Regions from separate parts of the Homo sapiens genome. Here region 2 is linked to region 1. Evidence: promoter capture Hi-C in human tissues and cell types (Jung and others, 2019). All regions are on one chromosome and are shown on one strand. Each heading gives the region's core, a stretch centred on a gene start or on the middle of the fragment in contact. The rest is flanking DNA. Distances are from core to core; before and after follow the strand shown.

Evidence for each region. Contacts are between HindIII fragments. The study calls those that stand out against the background at their distance.
Region 2: a contact is called between a fragment that was not itself captured here and the fragment with the promoter of NEURL1B in region 1, in 10 of the 25 tissues and cell types used here (H1 embryonic stem cells, IMR-90 fibroblasts, bladder and 7 more).

The regions. Positions count from the first base shown.
Region 1 is chr5:172,638,805-172,644,813 of GRCh38, forward strand. It overlaps NEURL1B (neuralized E3 ubiquitin protein ligase 1B), which reads left to right and starts at 2,459. Exons shown (of 5, transcript NM_001142651.3): 1 at 2,459-2,633. The coding sequence starts at 2,603. RefSeq lists a silencer at 2,221-2,510. The HindIII fragment of the contact is 6,548 bases long and covers 1-3,918 here.
Region 2 is chr5:172,586,344-172,592,352 of GRCh38, forward strand. No RefSeq gene overlaps it. Among named protein-coding and RNA genes, the nearest start is that of LINC01944, 30 kb to the left of the region's middle. The HindIII fragment of the contact is 3,256 bases long and covers 1,294-4,549 here.

The DNA of each region.
Region 1 (6,009 bases), core at 1,209-3,708:
AAGTGCAGAGGGATCTCAGATGGGTGAGCAACTGCTGTATGTGCCCAAATATAAGGTAATCCAAGTAAAGATTACAGGCAATCCCCATTCTCCCTATGAGAAGATGCACTTTCTTATTGAATAATATAAACTTAATGGGGTGAAGATGAAATAGACATCTACTTGAAATATTTCATTTATTACTTTAGTTATATAAACATATTTGCAATTATTCTCATAGAGAATACTAATATGGAAAGATTGCTTTTGGCAGTTTCAAATTTCAGGAAACAATTTGATTCTAATTCTTTTCTGTGTGGCTTTGACACTAGTGTCACCATCGTGTGTGTTGGGGGCAGCTTTTTACTAGAGCAGGTCCTACTCTCAGAGATCCAGAGGCTAACACACAGCCCTTTCGAATCCACATGTCAGGCAACTGCTGGGCACAGTGTCTCCACCGCAGGTCCAATCCGCATCACATTTTGACAGTAGGGATTCATTTGCTGCAGGTGAGTATTTGTGATCTGCACAACATGGCCACTTACTGAGGTACTCTGAAAGTGGCCTTTAAAAGGCCTGTTCACAACCTCTCACCCTTGCCGTCACAAAGTCATATTTGTTTGCATTGCCTTATCTGAGGAAAATTCCCTCAATTCCCTTTATAATATTGCTGACCTCCATATGCAACCCAATGTCACATAGATTAAAGGAGGATCAGCCAGGTGAGGTGGCTTAGGCCTGTAATCCCAGCACTTTGGGAGGCTGAGGTGGGGGAACCGCTTGAGGTCAGAAGTTTGAGACCAGCCTGGCCAACATGATGAAATCCCATCTCTACTAAAAATACAAAAATTAGCGGGGCGTGGTAGTGGGTGCCTGTAATCCCAGCTACTCAAGAGGCTGAGGCAGGAGAATTGCTTGAACTTGGTAGGCAGAGGTTGCAGTGAGCCAAGATTGTGCCATTCCACTCCAGCCTGGGTGACAGAGTGAGACTCTGTCTCAAAAAAAAAAAGAAAAAAAAAAAGGATCACGCTAACGGACCTTTCTCAAACAGAACTTTGGGGTTAAAAATTAAGTCACTGGGCGAGCACCTGTAATATGAGAAATTAGTAACTCAAATGCAAGGCAATCTTATGTTCAGACATATGACGTCAGGGGGGAGTGGGGAATCAAGGTTTCCCGGAAGTGGAAGCTTGGAGCTGGCCTTAAAGACCCTAGAACCCTCTGGGATGGGTCATGTACTGTAAGCAGAAGGCACCGGAGATGCAGAAGGCTGTCTCCTGAATACCCCGCTTTTATTCGCATAGCTTCAGGCTAGCTTTGCCCTGTACCATTGGAAGATCTTGGGCACCTCTCTTCCACTCTCAGAGCCTCAATTTCCCTATCTGTGAAATGGAAGTAATAATACATATTTCATAAAGTCTCAAGGGATACAAGAGCATGAAAAATAGAATTGAAAAAAACAGCTCATTTGGAATCGGGTCTTCTTGGGGAAGTCATTGCACTTCCTGGGCCTCAGCGTTCCAGCCTGTGAAATGGAGCTCGAGAAGGGCACAGCTGCACTTCCCACTGAGTGTGGTCCAGGTGCCTGAATGAGGAATGCCTGTTACTGCCTCTGCCAGGAACACTCTACCTATCTCTTCTCATGGCCGACGCCTTCTAGTCCATCAGATGGAGCTTATGTGCCCCCACCCCAGATTCTCCCTATGCCCCCAAACAATGTCATCTCCTCACTCTACTGGGATCTGTTTTATTTTCTTCCTGGCTTTGATTATTATATAATGTGATCGTAATTGCTTGTTATTTCTATCTTCAGCATGCCATCTCCAGGGCAGTGGGGACCTTGTCTGTATCTACCCGGCCCAGCACAGTGCCTGGTGCATAGACTGTGCTCAATAAATATTTTAGTGAATGAGCGAATAAATTAATGAATGTGGGTTCCCTCTTCCCAATCTTTGGACACTGGGTTTCTTCTATTCCTCGGTACCTGGCCTAGGGGATAGAAAAGACTCCACCCAAACCCGGGAACCCTGGGTGTACTGTCTCCAAGCCCTTTACATGGTCCCAGGGGCCCGTCTGCCTCTGTGTAAGTTCCCCCGGGGCCGAAGCACTCTCCAAAGAGGTCTGCCGGGGCTAGGACTCGGCCGGCTGGGGCCCCGCGCCTGGAAGAGGGCCTGGCACACAGTGGGCCTTCTCAAAGTGTTAGAACAAATGGGTGACAGGCCAGCAGACTGCCGATCCTGGCACCCGAGGGCACCCAGCTGCCCTGCGCGCCTTCCCGGCCCGGGCGCGGGAGCGGCGAGGGCGGGAGGCTTGGCTGTGCTTCTCCCGCCGCCTGGTGCAAACTTTCAAAAGATGCGGCGGCCGCGGCCCCGCCCCTGCACTGTTGGAGGCGGTGGGAGGCGGGGGCGGAGCCGGCGGGCCCGGGCCGGTGGCTCCGCCTCCTCCTCCCGCAGGCGCCGCCGCCGCCTCCCTCCCGGCTCCCGCCCCAGCTGCCGCCCGCCGGCTCGCCCGTGCAGCTGCGATGCCCCGGAGCGTCGACCCCGGTCCTGGTCCCTGGCCCGCCGCGTAATTAGCCTCCGCGCGCCCAGAGCGCGCCGCCGCCAACGCCGCGCCCGACGCAGCGATGGGCAACACGGTGCACCGGACCCTGCCAGGTACGCCGGGGAGCCCTGCCCGGGAGGCGGGCGCCGGGCTTCTCTCCTCCGGGGGACCCGCTGGGTGACTCTGGAGAGCTACCCCACGGCCCTTGGAGCCCTCGGCTCGCAGCGGGCTGGAGTCTCCGGTACCTCCCGGACCTCAGCTCGGCGCGCGCCCCGCGGCTGGGCTTTGCGCCCCGGGAGGGCGGGTACCGCGTCCTGGTTACCTTGGGGACCCCAGTCCTCATTCTCCCGGCTTTGGCCAGATGCGCAAAAAGGGCCGCTGGGGCGATGCCGCGCGCCCCCTCGCCTTTGTTCCAGCCCGAGGGCGCTGATGAGCAAACTCAAGGCGACCTGGGTGGGGGTGACTGGAGCCGGGCTCGCCAGGGCTTCCGACGGTCAGAAGCCACCCGTGGTGCCAAGACTGCAGCTGCCGAGAGTGAGGGGTGCTCTCAGGGGCACCCCAGTTTCCAGCCTCCCAGCGCCCCCGCGGCACATGCTGCCGTGCTTTGGCCACGTTCCCACGCGCACCCCGGTTGCGCCCCCCTCTGGTGTCCGCTCCACTGGGGACTCCTTCGCCCCCTCGGAGTCGCTGCTGCAGATCGCATCGCCCCCTAGTTAAAATCGCCCCAGAATTTCTGGGACCGGAGTGAGGGGATCCGGAGCAGGTTAACGGGGTAGGAGGAGGCCTTACTGGAAAATACATGGTAATTGTGGGAACAGATCAGCGGTCCCGCGCCCGCGCGTGCCCGTGGAGGTTCAGTGCCCAGCACTTTGCATACCCCAGCTCGGTATGCAAAGAAGCTTCGCGATAAAGATGTGTATCCCAGTTTTACAAATAAAAAAATTGAGTGTCAGAAGAGGTGAAATGACTCACCCAAGGTCACACAGCTAGTAGTGGGAGAATCTGGAGTGGGACCTGTGTCTCTCTGCCCTCCCTCCCCTCACACGCCCAAGTATTTAGAAGTATTTTGTCTTAAGGCTGGGCCTTTGTAGCATCCTTTGGGCAAAAGGTGAGAGGAGTGTGTGTGTGTCTAAAGCACAAAGGCTCGGCTCAATGGGGAAGCAAGTCAGCTGTGAGGTTAATTTAGTGTGAGGTTCTGGAAGAGGGACATATCACCCCATCTCTGCTATAACACTCCCATATAGCTCTCCCTTCTAGGCATTACATGCTCTTAAAGAATAATTTCCCCTGGAGCGGGTTGAAGTGGACAGTGCTGAGCCCAGGATTCCCAGGGTCAGCTTATGGAAGAGGAGCCAACTCCTACTTTACAAGCCTCTGAGCAACTGCACTCAAACGTTCAAATTCCCAGAGAGCTGTAATCATCAGCAGAGTCACCAGCTAGTCAGTGGCAGAGGTGGGATTAGAACCCAGGTCTGCTTACTGGAGGGTGGCCTCTACCTCCTGTGGACAGGGCTATTGCCAGGTTGGGGGAGAACCCACCCGCGGGTCAGGAGATATCTGGGGATGTTGGCAAATAGGGCAGCAGATATTCTCGCCACATAGACACTGGGATGAGGCACCTCGGCACAGGCCCCTTTCCTTGGTTTCTTAATTTAAAAATGTTTATACTATTCTAGTAAAAAGCCATTCTGCCACCTGTGGGTCAGCCCTGGGGTGCGTAAAGGGACAGACACACGCCAGGCAGGCTAAATATAGCTAGAGATTTATGTATTCTCCATCCCTCTCAACTCTCTCTCTGTGGACTGGGCCACCCTAGTCTGGGAGCCGGCAGTTAAGGTTGGTTACCCACTGCAGTGTCTAAGTATGGGGAATTCAGACTCTTCTCTGGGGATTGAAGCTTGCACTGAGTTTGAGGAAGGGGTCAGAACCGGAATTCCTGAGTCACATCGGGTGGCAGATGCCAAGAATATGAAGGGCCGTTAATTGTTTTCCGACCTACCAGTATGAGTTTCTTGCACACCCTGTGCTGTTTTTTGTACCTCTGTGCTTGGCATGTGATGGTCCCCATGCATGGATTGTCCTTTCTTGTCTAGTCTGCCTTTCAAAATCCAGTTGTCGTTACCTCCTCCAGGAAGCTTTCCCTGACCACCCACAGTCTCATCCTTTGCTCTGCTATCTGGATGCCTGAAGTCCTTTCCTGCTCATCGTTGCAATGACTGCATTGTCACTGCCTGTCTCTGTGACTCTTTGCGGTTCCCTGAGGACAGAGCCCTTGTCTTGATCATCTTGTATCCCTGGTTGCCCATCCCAGAGACTGGTGCCTGGCAAGGGCTCAAAAACTGGTGGTGGAGCTCGAATGTTGCCTGAATCTTAGGCTGAAGGAACACTTGGCACAGTCTTGCCCTGTAGAATCCTTGTGCTTTCGTTCTCAGGAAAAGGACACATGCGTGGGGTTCTTTCTGCGGGACTTGAAATAGAGAGCTGGCATTTGCTGAGCACCTGGATTCCATGCCAGGCTTCCTGCATATGTGGCTTCATTTACACGCCAAGCATGCTTCTCCTCAAGGCTTCTGCACTTCCTGATCCCTCTCCCCGGCACATTCTTCTGCCCTCCTCCCCATGGCTCCCACCAGGCTTCCTTGGGGTCTCTGCTTGAACGAGGGGCCTGCTGTTGCCCCAACCCCACTCACTCCTTTGACCCAGCTTTAAGTTTCTCCTTAGCACGTGTCACTATGCGACACGCTGTATGTGTAGTTAGCAGTTTCTTGTCTGTCTCCCCCAGGGAGATTTTGTCTGTTTTATTCACTGCTATACGTTTAGCACCTGGAGCAGTGGCTAGTACAGAGTAAATGTTCAGTAAGTACGTGTTGGATGGGATGAATGGATGAATTTAATTCTTCTAACATCCCTGCAATGTAGGCATTATCATCTCCATATTACAGTTGAGAAGCCGAGGCTCAGAGAGGTAAAGTGGCTTGTCCCAGCTCACACAGTTCACCTAGTTGGCAGAACTGGGATTGCAATTTAGGTTAACTTAGCTCCAAAGTCCTGCATTCTTATTCTGACATGCTGTGGCCTCCCAGCCCGTGATTTAGATAACATTTATTGGGTTCCCCACCATGCACGTGGCATGCTACACTATACAATAAGGAAATGCCAAAGAAAGGGAAGGTTGTTTATGATCGATTGCGGAAGCCTCTTGGCAGCTCTTGCAAAGTGCATCAGCATATTCAGAGAAATGCCCTTTAAACAGAACGTGCAGCACAGGACCTCACATCTACTAAGCTCCTACTGTGTGCTCTACACTCTCTTTCCAGTTGCAACTCAACCCTGCAAAGTAAGGTGCCATTCTCCACCATTTTAAAGAGATTAAGACACTTTGCATACAGTTAGGCAGTGGCAAAGCTGGGCTTAAAAGACTGAGACCTGTCTGACTCCTCATACCATGTAGTCCTTCTCTCTCGAGTCCGTTAGCCTTCATCTGGGTAT
Region 2 (6,009 bases), core at 1,672-4,171, 52 kb before region 1:
GTGGGAGGTGTCAGCTGGGTCCTGCGAGGAATCTGGGCGTTATCCAGACAGCGATTGGAGCCCCTGGCACTGTCAGCACGGAGAAAGCTTGCGTTTTGGAGAGCTCATTCCGGCTGCAGGGTGGAGGATGGCTGGGAGAGGTTGACCAGGGCAGAGAGATTGGGGAGCCAGGGGGCGAGTAAGGGTGGGGGCTGGGGATGGGGTGGGGTGCGGCTTGACCAGTTGTATGAGGAAGAGCGAGGCTGGGGAAGGCGGAGTAAGATCTGAGGTCCAGCAGCTGCTCTCTGGTCTCCAGAGGAAGCTGAGGTGTGGGCCTTGCCCTGGGTGGCTCCACTTCAGCCCTGCTGGCCAGATCGACCGCCCTCGTTCTCTTTCTTAGCAGGAGACCTCCTAGTTGGCATCAAGCTAAGCCTCAGGCCTCACTGGTTGGAAGCCCTGGCTCCACACCACAGAAGGCACAGAGAGAAGTGGTGTGGCAGATGTACTGGGAACATGGGATTAAACACTTAGGGAGTGACGGAAAGCTGCCCTCTGGAGGGTGCGGGATGGGGCCCAGGCCCTGCCTCCTGCGCAGGAAGGCTGGGTGGTGGGGGCTGGAGGAAACAAGTCCCCTCTGGGGAGTGGAAGCAGGCTCACCCGTCTGTTTCTGGGGAGTGGAAGCAGGCTCACCCCTCTGTTTCTGGGGAGTGGAAGCAGGCTCACCCCTCTCTTTGCCCCCCCGGCAACACACACACAGTGGACCTAGCCCACACTTCCATCATCCGTCCTCGGGCAAAAAGATGTGCTTGTTTCCTCCAGCCCTCGCCACCCAGCCTTCCTGAGCAGGAGGCGGGGCCTGGACCCCATCTCCCACCCTCTGGAGGCAGCTTGATGCACACATCAGTGGTGCAGTCCACTCTCAGGAGGTGGAACTCGGTCCTCTGTGCGGGCCCTGGAAGTTTGGGCAGAGAATTCTGGGCTCCTGAGTGTCTGGAGGAAAGTCAGAAGTGGGGAGAAGGAGGGTTCTGGGCTCTGGGTCTCTGGCTTGGACAGCTGAATAGACTTAGGTGCTGCTCCCCGGTTTTGGAATCCCAGAAAAGGGAAGAGGCAGCTGGGATAGGGGTGATGATGAATTTAGAGCGAGCAGGTTGCCCTGAGGGGCTTGTGGTCGAGGAGGCTGAGTGGGGGAGCTCACCAGTCCAGGCTTAGCTACAGACCGAGGAGGGCCTCAGCTGCTGACCCCCAACACCCCAGAGAGATGAAGGATTCCTTCCAAACTCCTGGGCCAGTTGTTCCTCCCTCCCAGGTGCCAACTATAGTTACGGAGCTCGAATCATGGGGGATGGTCAGCCCTGTCTCCTCTGGTCCCTCCCTTCCCTGGCCTGCTCTATGGAAGGTCTCTGGGGTTCTGAGCCTTCCAAGAAGAGGAAAAGACAAGATGTCTCAACTCTAAGGTCAGAGCACTTTTCTAAGGAGTATCTGGATGTGGAAGAGTAGGCAAAGACATGAAAATATTAAACCTGGATAGGCCAAAGCATAAAGAGCTCTGGAATAGATGGGAAGGAAGCTGCCACTGATGGACTGACTGACTGATTGACTGATTGATTGATCGATTGTAGTAAAATGCATATAACATAAAAATTGCCCTCTCAACTGTGTTAAAGTGTACAGTTCAGTGGCATTAAAGACATGCACAATGTCATACAATGCCTACTATCCAGTTCCAGAACTTTTCATCACCCCAAGTGGAAACCCCATGAGCTACCATTGATTCGGGAGAAACTATGCACTGTGCTGCATTCTTCACTCCCATTAGCTCAGCTAACCCTCCTCATAGCTTTGAGAGGAGTCTGTTTCGCAGATGAGGAGAATGAAGCTCAGGAAAGAACAATAAGTTGCTCAAAGCCATACAGGTGGTACATGCCCAAGACAGGATTTGTGTCCAGGTTTGTCCAACTCCAGAGCCCATTATGTCTGATGGGGGCAGTTGGAGGATGCTGAGACTGGGGTAAAACCCACACAGCTGCTGCTGCTGTCCACTGGGGTACAGCTGGGTTGATCTCTACCCACACCCCAGAAGATGGTAGAGGACCTAGCAAGGCATTCTGCTATGCAGAGGAACTGTCTAGATGAACCAGGGACTCAGGCTGGAGATGGGGCTTAGCTGGGGGAGCAAGGGAGTGGGGCACAGTGCCAGGGCTTGTGACCTATTGAGGGCAATCCCAGTTAGGGGCTGGCAGTAGGGACCAGGGTCCTATCCCTAGGGAAGAGCGCTGATCCCAGCCGTGCAGTGGACAGCCGGCGTCAGAGAGGTCCTCCATGCCAGGCAAGGGGCTGCCAGGAGCACCAGCTGGAGGTGGGGCCTGACTCCAGATCCCAAACCCTTCCCAGCAGGGGTCTGAGTCCAAGCAGGAAGTGCTCGTGGCCCTCAAATCTGTGTCTCCCGTGGACTCCGAAAAACTCAAGATTTCATTGGTGTGAAGGCCTCAGATGCACCCGTGCAGCAGGAAGTCAGAAAAGCTTTCACCTTTTCTCTTCTCTTTCTTCTACGTGTGTGCATGCAAATACACTCAGATGTAAAAATGGAATCTTATTATACATCCAGTTTTGCCACCTGTCTTTTTTTTTCTACTCAAAAATGTCACGGGAATCTTCCCAAGCTATTTAGACATCATGCGGTTTAAAGGCGACACAGCAGTCCATTGCACGGCTGCCTCCTAGTTTATCTGACCCAAGGTTCTTACTTGGCAGCATCTGGAGACATTTTTGATTGTCACAACTTGAGGGGCGGGGTGCTACTGGCATCTAGTGGGTAGAGGTCAGAGATGTTGCTAAACATCCTACAATTGACAGGACAGCTCCCTCTAATGAAGAATTACCTGGTCCCAAATGTCAATGGTGCTGATCTAACCAATGTCCCACTAATTAGCATTTAGACCTTATCCAGTAGCCAAATGGTTTGATTATTACAATGTCGCCATTAACATCTTTTTGACACACAGTCCATCCTCATTTTTCGTAGATTCCTTTTGGCAAATGTGCCTACTTGCTTAAATTTATTTGTAACCCCAAAAGCAATATTTGCTGCACTTTGACAGTCGTTCTCAGATACGCACAGAGCAGTCAAAAGCTTGCCTCACCCAATGGGCACTTCCCAGACGAGGTGGAGCGAGGCCAGGCTCTGCCTTCCTGTGTCAGCTCTCGCACTGGAAATTAGCGTCCTTTTGCAGTGTATTTAGTGCCACCATTTTTTGTGCTTTTTGTTGGTGATGTCACTGTTAAAATGGCCCCAAGCACAGAGCTGACGTGCTGTCTAGTGACCCTAGGCACAAGAAGGCTGCGATGAGCCTTATGGAGGAAAGACATGTTAGAGAAGCTTCATTCAGGTTTGAGTGATGGCCATGAGTTCAACGTGAATGAATCTGCAATATACACTAAATAAGGTGTCTTTGAACAGAAACACACATACAACGAGGTGGTGTATTGATCACTCGACAAGTGTGTTGTGACCAGAGGCTGAAAGGACCCTAACCCTGTATTTCCCCTGGGAGCAGTGCCTTGATGTTTGCTAATTCGGTGTTCCCAGCAACTTTAAAGAACATGACTGGCACAAACAATGAGAACTGATGGTACACCATGATTGTTTTACATGTTGTATACCCTGGAAGTGTGGTGGCTGCCTCACACGGTGAGGTCCTTTTGAGTATTGATACTTAGGATCAAACTAACATGCAGCAACAATGCTCTCACCAATGGGATATGAGAGTCTCAGTTCCCTGCACTCTTCCCAGCATGAAGTAGGGTTGATTTTTTGCATCTTTTTCAGCTATTAAATTTTTTTCATTTTTTTCCAACTATTGACAATTTCTTGAACTCCAAGGGAATGTGCACGGAAAGAAATAGTCTTACAATTTTGTACATTGCCCAACGTCTAATTTTTCATTTCCCATAATTAATACTCCTCAAAAAATTTAACATTCTAATAATTAAGCTGCTGAGTTCTTAAAACTTATGAATTTAATAAATTAGATGTTCCCAAGCATTTAAGCTTTGATTACAAACTTAACCAAATAAGCTCTTCACACATCTATTATTTCAAATTCTCGTAAGTGCTTTAAATATCTTGAAAAGTAGACAATTATATAACGATAAAGCTGACAAGAACACTTTCACCATAACTGGTGATAGCAGGACCAACATCATGGATTTCAACTTGTCTTTTTATTACTTCTATTCTTATTTTCATTTACTATCTCTTGTTATTTCTAGTTTCTTCCTGGGGCTAGGATTTTATTTACCCAACCAAAGAATTGAAGTTTACTTCCCAGGCTGCCTGAGCCTGCAGATACCAGCCAATGGTAGATGACTCAGGAGCCTGGTTTGTGAGACTTGGGTGCATCTTTCACCCATTATGTTGCTGGGCACACCCCTTTTTAGGACTTCCTATGCATTCTATCTGTTGCATTAGGCCCAGTGCAGTGGCTCATGCCTGTAATCCAAATGCTTTGGGAGGCCAAGGTGGGAGGATCACTTGAGCCCAGGAGTTCAAGGCCAGCTTGAGAAACATGGTGAGACCTCATCTCTACAAAAAATAAAAAATAATTAGCTGGTTGTGATGCACGTACCTGTGATCCCAGCTACTTGGGAGGCTGAGGTAAGAGGATTGCTTGAGCCCAGGAGGTTGAAGCTACAGTGAGCCATGATCGTGTCACTACATGCCAGCCTGGGTGACAGAGCAAGATCTTCTCTCAATAAATAAATAAATAAATAAATAAATAAATAAATAAATAAGGCCCCTGTTATTGCCCCCAACCAAATGGATTCATTTAGATTTGTTCACAGCCTTGATCTTTTCCTCGAAAGGACATTTGTTCATTCACATCCCTTGCTGCTGCTGAATGACTTGACATGAGCATTTTTTGCAATCCTTTGCTCCGAATGCTTCATCTGCAGAGGATATCTGCTCATGACACCATTTCATGAAGGTTTCTCCTGAAGGTTCTTTCTTCATGATATTATATAACCTGAGTGGTTTTATTTTGTAACTGCTTTTTTGTGAATGGGGTTTGCCCCAATTTGGACAAATCTAAAGCTTTTGGCTACTCTAATTATAACAGATCTTTCTTATCTACCACGAAGACCTCCAGTATTGACAATAACCCAACGGGACACGCCAGCCTTTTTAAGATCTTCTTAGTGCTCTGCTGTGGAGACGCATCATATTTTATTTAGTCAGTGCTGCATTGCTTGACATCTAGTAGCATCTAGTCTTTCACTATTATAGTTAGTGCTGCCATGGATATTCTTATGCATGAATCTCTGTGTATTCATCCAATTATTTCCAAAAGTAGAACTGACTGGGTCTAATTCTGAAGCAGTTGCCAACAATTAAAAGTCATATTCTCACGGAAATCTGATTTCTGACTATGGTTGACAGGTGGAGCAATCTGGCAGCCCAAGCCCATCCCTGCGAGATAATGACCTGGACGCAGGGTCTGCTCCCTCTAGAAGCTGGTCTCTTGGGAGTCTCACTTGGCTCTTTCTCCCATTTGCAAGACCTGCCTGGCTTTTATAGATTCTGAGTGTGCAAACCCTGGCATTTGTCGATTTGATGGGTTTAAAATGACATCTGATTGAAGTTGTAATTTTTATTTACTAAATGATCGGTGCAATTGAGCCTGTGCAGCTGAGGAACGTCTTCTGGCTTTTATTAGTCATTGATGTGTCTTGTTTTGTGACTTGCCTGTTCACGGTCTTTGCTCTAATTTTCTATTGGGTTGTCTGTAAGAGCTCTTTATCCTTTTAAAGTTAAAAGAAGAAATAAAAAAGCATCTCTACTTTAAATTAGCCTGGTTTGGGCAGCAGACAAGATATAGGCTGTCTCATGCACACCTAGAAGACTTCTGAAGTTGCCTGAGTCCAGGTTGGAGGGGCAAGAGATGACAGGTGGGCAGCCTGGCACTCTATTAACCATACCTGGATGCAGCTTGGGCTAGAAAGGACATACAGACTGAAAACAGGATCTTGAAA